Regions from separate parts of the Homo sapiens genome. Here region 1 is linked to region 2. The links are contacts of gene promoters, found by promoter capture Hi-C in blood cells and fetal thymus (Javierre and others, 2016). All regions are on one chromosome and are shown on one strand. The core of a region is centred on a gene start or on the middle of the fragment in contact, and the rest is flanking DNA. Distances in the headings are between cores, read along the strand shown. Region 1 overlaps SCAF11 (SR-related CTD associated factor 11). Region 2 holds the start of TWF1 (twinfilin actin binding protein 1).

Region 1 (3,207 bases), core at 624-3,123, 2.2 Mb after region 2:
ATCCATACCTATAGTTCCAATTACCTGTATGGGAGATTCCAGTTTTCCATTTACAGCCAATACTCTTCCTCTGAATTTCAGAACCATGTATCTAATTGCTTACAGGAACTTCTACCTGAAAGCTCCAAAGGTACTTTAAGCCTGATATGTTAAAACCAAAAGAGCTCTGGTCCTTATCTGGCACAACCCAGGAATGTAATCCAGAAATCATCTTTCAAATTTCTTTCTCCCTCACTTTCAATCTATTAACTAAGGCCTGCTGGTCTCAAATCCCATCCACTGAGCCCATCTCCACAATTATCATCCTAATTCAAGCTATCCTCATCTCTCCCAGACTACTAAAAAAGCCTGCTAACTAATTCTCCCAGATCTCTTGCTGCCTCTCTCCTCCCTTTCAATACACATCACCACAATCCTAGTTTTGCCTTCTGGAACTATAAGAAATTAATATGGCTTCTAAATGACAACATTTTTAACAATAAGATAGTTATACTGCTTGATATGGTTTGGCTGTGTCCCCACCCAAATCTCTCTTGAATTGTATTCCCATAATTCCCACGTGTTGTGGGAGCAACCTGTTGGGAGATAATTTGAATCATGGGGGCAGTTTCCCCCATACTGTTCTCATGGTAGTGAACAAGTCTCACAAGATCTGATGGTTTTAACAGATGTTTCCGCTTTTGCATCTTCCTCATTTTCTCTTGCCACCAACCACTATGTAAGAAGTGCCCTTCTCCTCCCACCAAGATTCTGAGGCCTCCCTAGCCATGTGGAACTGTAAGTCCAATTATACCTCTTTTTCTTCCCAGTCTCAGGTATGTCAGCAGCATGAAATCAGGCTAATGCACTGCTCTACTCTTAGCTGAGGCATTCTTAGCTCCTTCTATATTAAGACAAATGATAGTTTCAAGGTCACATACTGTTATACTCCTCTAAAAACACAGACCCCTTAGGCTGGGTGTGGTGGTTCATTCCTGTAATCCCAGCACTTTGGGAGGCCAAGGCGGGATGATTACTTAGCCCAGGAATTTGAGACCAGCCTGGGCACCAAAGTGAGAGCTGTGATCACACCACTGCGCTCCAGCCTGGGAGACAGCGAGATGCTATCTGAAAGCAAAAACAAAACAAACAACAACAAAAAACAAGGACCCCTGAAATGAACATGGCCCACATGCATGGATATAAGTAACTTGGCAGTTTATGCTACAGACTGAGACTTGCTTAGTCTAAAGTTTCAAACCACAATCACTATTTGTAACGTTTACAGCTGAAAGCAGGTTAATTCATTAACTTACACTGAAGGCATTGTTCAGGTGTTTAGGTGACAAATACTGACAAATGCTGATCTCACAGAAGATAAATCACAGTGAAGAAAATAAACAATAAACCTAAGTTAGATTACACAATATGTTGCAAAATGATAAATGCAATGGAGAAAAATCTAGCATAAAAACAGATACAAAATATCGGGGGAAGGCTGTTGTTTTATACACAGTAGTTAGAGAAGACCACAACAGCGTAGGGGAAAGGAGATTGGAGAAAGGGTGAGGAGATGAAGTCAGAGAGGAAGAAGAGACTTAAATCATAGAGCCTTGTAGACCATAGGAGTATGGAATTTACTATGACTGAGAAGGGAAGCCATTTGAGAAAAGAAGTTACATGACCTGACATTTTATCAGGATCACTCTGGCTATGGAGTGTTAAAGACTGTAGATCAGCAAAGGTCACAGTGACTTTTTAGGAAGATATTTTTGAAAGCAAAATAGTGGTTGTGTTTTTACGTTATGTATTGAATTTTTATGTGTCTATGTACTAGGATTTCATACATTAAGTTCATAGACACAACTTAAAAAAATACAATGCAAAGATGAGTTTTGGGAATAGCAAGAGAATGATACTGGATATTTTAACTCTGGGCTCTACTCAGCACTACTAACAGTTATTACTGCTCAGAAGCAAGACAAGGTGCAAGGTTATTAACTTATTTTGGGGGACAGAGTATAATTAAAAATCTGGATTTTAAGTTTATTTCACTGGGCAAGGTAAGTCAAGGTACAATTTACATCTTAAAAGACAAAAGCAGGTGATAGCAGGGCTTGCTAAAGGGAAGTTACAATGAAAATTATTCTACAGTTGACTTTCTTTTTATTACTTTTATGCCTGCTACTCTCTTTAATTAAGGTGCTACAACTATCTCTGATATACTTTAAAAGTTCAGTATTAAGTTGATGGGTAGTATAGTACTGTATTTTCTGATTACTAAAAGATGTTACTGATGATGAATCAACAGTATCATGTAACTGCACTGATTCATCCTATCTCTGCTGAATAAAAGCACAGGTTTTCCAGAAAACTGTCTAAGCTCTAGTTGGTGCCAAAGGACGATAGAGAGCTAAGTAACTCCTGAAAAGTTTCGATCTTAACACACTAGCCCTATTACCACATGAAGGTATTAACAGAAAAAATTAAAAAATTATCCGTAAAATTTTCTCCATGACATGTTTTCTGGCAACATATTTAGAAACTTTAAATTTTCTTCTACAGTTTTCTTCCCCTTTATACTGAAGAATGTCTTTAAAGCATGAGTATACTTACAGTAAGCAAACATTCAAATTTTACCCCAGTGAAATCTTAAAATGTACTCAAACTCTCAGGCAAAAAGTTCACTATCTGAATGTGAAAAACTGAATGACTGTTAAAATATCTGCAAGCACCAAAAAATATTATAGCTAAAATGCAGCTACCCTAAGAACTGTTTTTAAAAAACTCACATTGCATAAAAAATATAAATTCAGATTATCCGATAGGATAATATAAAACAAAAGAAATCCAAAGACAGTTTCAAGATTTCATTTCTCTTGCTTAGTTAAAACAACAAAAACAAAAGGCCCATGAACTTTTTCTTGCATCTTTTAACCAAAATAGTGACATGATCAAGCCAACTGCCAAAGAAACAGGAAAGAGAAAGCAATTGTTTAGAAACAGACTTGATTACATGTCAAAATTTTAATACAATTACTAATAAAATACAAAAACCAACCGTTATTTTAAAATGTACTGCCCTGATATTCTGCTGCTGAGGTAGGTGGTGATATGTAGAAATTAATTTTTCTTTTAAAACGAAAAAATAATGCATTTATTAATATGCTTTTCCCAAAATTCGGGGAAAATTCCCAAATCGGAGAAAAAAATTTAACATCAGCATCT
Region 2 (3,369 bases), core at 61-2,560:
ATATATCAAATATCCTAACTTGTTTAAAGAAAAAGACAATAAAATGCATTCAGTCTTAACTCTGGTTATATTTTTCTAACTTGCATTTCTCAAAAGCTAGATTAAACTCATTGAATAAATATGTATTTAATAACTAACCCTTGTGTTCCTATTAAAGCTTCAATTTCGTTCTAATTTCGTTCCTGTGTTGTCTATTAGCAGCAAGAACCACTATGTAAGTAGGTAGTGCTTGCTATAAGGCTCAAGCATGAGAGTCAATAACTACATATTTATATATCGAAATTAATGCGGATAAATAAAACAAAGTTTTCAGATTTGAGACTATTTTGCTTCTGCGTGCGTGCAGGGGGATGTGTGCGGTGGTGTCAAAAATCTTTACGAATAAAACATACAATTAAGTGTTCATCTGGGAGAAAGACTCGCTATTAACAGTAAGAGCTTGAGTTTACACTAGAACTCGTTAAGTGATCGCGAGTAACCCGGGGATATATTATTTGACTCTTGATGAGGTGAGTACCTGCAGGCTGCCCAATTTCAAACCAGGAAATAATGGAGGTCAGATATAACTGCATATTGAACTGTCTGCACGCATTACATGCAACCATACAGATCAGTTTCCCTTGGGGAGTATCTAGGAAAAAGATCAAAACACACGCTTACACTCGAGATTTCTCAGAACATAACTCTCATTTTCCTATTTGGAGAGAAAATGCGGGAGAGTTTTGGGAAGCACCCCTACTGATGTGAGAAAGATTCTGGCATGGTTCTTTTTGTAATCAAAGTCCTGTAATATTCTCCTTTGGACCATGAAAAAGAAAACTCGCCTGGTTCTCGACAGCGTACTGAAGCCCCAGTCGCCTCCACTGTCCCAGCTCTTCCCTACGTGACCAAAAGGGGGAAAGTTGGGCGACTGTCGGGGACGGTGGAAGGCACGCCCCCTTCAACCAGGCCGCCTCGAAAGCCAATTTCCTTCGCTCCCCCGAATTTCGGATCAATCTGCAACGTGACGGCAGCAGGGACCGGGCTGGAGGAGGACGCAGGCCGGCAGCGCCCGGGAAGCAGGAGCGCGGAGAGGCGCCGAGGCCCGGCTCGCCCCGCGAGACCGACTTCCGGAGCTCCCGGCCCGACTCCAGCCCTGCCGGTCCTGCAGCCCTCCCGGCTCTCCCGGCTCTCCCGGAAGCCCCTTCCCTGCGAGTCGCGCCGGGCGCTGTTACCTTGGATGCCGGTCTGGTGGGACATGGCGGCGGCCGCTAGCTCCCGGCTCCGGCGCTGAGTGCAGCCAGCGGCCCCGGCCGGCGGCCCCAGGAAGTGGCTGCTCCTCCGCCGGCCCCGGCGCGTCATCCGCCCGCGACCCGCGGCCGCCCCGCCCCGTGAGGTTGACTGAGTGCCCGAGCGTCCCCGCCGCCCCGCCGCCCTTCCTGGCCGCCGGGCTGCGGTCCAGCCCCCGGCCTCGCTATCCTAGTTCTCTGCTTGGGGTCCTGCTTCTGCTCTTGCCGCCGCCTCTCCCGCTTCTTCCGGGGGGGACATGCCGCAGAATCTAGACTGCTCAGTGCTCCGACGTCTGCTCTCTGACAACCCCGCCGACGCCGCCATTCGCTGCCTCAGCAAAGGGGTGCTCAAAAACGGAAGTGATCATTTTACCAAATAGGCATTTTCCAGCTTAAAAAAGATGTGCACATTATTTTTCTTGGTTTACTCTTCCTATAATCGATACCGTTTAGTGTAGAAAAGCCTTCTCCTTGCTCCATTGTTTTGAAAGAATTAATATAGACTGCCTCTCATCAAATTTTTCCACGATTTTAAATTAAGTTAATCTCAGACTGTTAACTTTTCTTTTCAGCTGGACACATTTAGAGACTCAGTGTATCTTTCTCTTCACTCCGGAAAGAGACAGCCACTAAGAGATTAGCTGATTTGAGTATCCCTCTGTGGTCGATTATACCATTGCAAATCCTGCTCTGCTTTAGGTTGGCAGTTTATTATTTAATCCAGTAATTATTCAAAATTCACTTGGACAGATTTGTAAGGTAGCAGCAGATATTACTTAAAAATCTTTTCCTTTCCTGCTTTTACAAACATGTAGTTCCTTCCTGAAAGGTAATGTTAGTTTTGTGGGGGGTTTGGTTTTTTTTTGGTACTGCTTCTCTACTGCTACTAGGTGGGAAGCTAGTTCTTATTTTTAGGGCCTTGAAGTGACACATACACAAAATTATAATCTGCTAATGAAGAAATAATTTATTCAGGTCAATAATATAAGTGCAAGTTAATCACTGTTCCAGTACTATACGATGTATTTTTCATGAGTGATGAACAGGCCTGCAATTGTTTTTCTTTACAAGAATCACAGCAAACAAGGTTATGTTCTATTGCCTGTTATCTGAGCTCTGTTTTTCAGACATATTCTCATATTCAGGAATAAACTAAATCTGAGTTTTATGACTTGTATGGATTTAAGAAATGTAGGGAGGAGTTTCATTCTAATCAAATTCTTCCTGACACAATGGTTCACCCTGATTTACCAGTTTTTGACTACATTGCTGAGCAGAGAGAAAATTGCAGAGTTGACTTGCAGTATTTTGACTGATTCATGTCCTAGTGCTTCGGGGAAATTGCTTAAGGAAGTTGGCGTTGCTCAAAAGTATAGTTGAGCAAAATATAATCCTTCCATATTCGTGCTTGGGAAAGGCCACTGTATTCTCAGTCCTGAAGAAGAGGAATGTCTAGTTAGGTTGGGACCACCCTGACAGCCACCAGAAAGTGCTTATTTACTGCCAGTACAATAGTTTGACTTAAAAGCTGCAAGCGTCTTGGGTACCTTGCTCTGCTCTAGCCACAAATATTTTCCCACTTTTCTTCATCTATTGTGTCTCCATTTAGTGAACATTTGCCAGAGCTGTCATGAGAATAATACCTTAGATTTGTATGGTAGTTTACAGTTTACAAATAATATATAATAGACTTATTTTGAGTACCAACATCCTGTGTGACGAGCTGAAAAAAATAGCAGGTTTTGTTTTTTAACTTTAAGAGGTTTGGAAATTGAACCACAGAGTTGGGAAGTCAGCAGGTTTCAAGGCTAAGACAAGTGTCTGTAAGAAACAAACCATTTGAAAACAATGTATGCAGATAAGAGGGTTTATTATAAGGATATTGGAGGATCTTATAGATCTTGACAACTTGGTTGTCACCTCTGCTTTTCTCTTCTTTTTCTCCAAATAAGATCTCTCTGCTTGTGCAGTCAAAATGGCTGAATATGGCTACCCTACACTTTCCAAATTGACAGGGTTGTAGCTGCATGCAGAGATTACATAGCTCTTCTAAGTCCAAGTTTAAAGTTCCTAAGAGAAAGCACGTGAATGACCCTGCTTG

What was found. The method cuts DNA at HindIII sites, captures the fragments that hold promoters and counts their contacts. A CHiCAGO score of 5 or more calls a contact.
Region 1: a contact is called between a fragment that was not itself captured here and the fragment with the promoter of TWF1 in region 2, in 1 of 17 cell types (monocytes). The highest score is 7.5, in monocytes.

The regions. Positions count from the first base shown.
Region 1 is chr12:45,986,127-45,989,333 of GRCh38, forward strand. All of the region lies in intron 1 of SCAF11 (SR-related CTD associated factor 11), which reads right to left. Among named protein-coding and RNA genes, the nearest start is that of SCAF11, 2.8 kb to the right of the region's middle. RefSeq lists a silencer at 577-626. The HindIII fragment of the contact is 7,512 bases long and covers 1-3,207 here.
Region 2 is chr12:43,805,007-43,808,375 of GRCh38, forward strand. It overlaps TWF1 (twinfilin actin binding protein 1), which reads right to left and starts at 1,311. Exons shown (of 9, transcript NM_002822.5): 1 at 1,215-1,311. The coding sequence starts at 1,239. It also overlaps a transcript of TMEM117 not described here. RefSeq lists a silencer at 1,007-1,486. The HindIII fragment of the contact is 5,668 bases long and covers 156-3,369 here.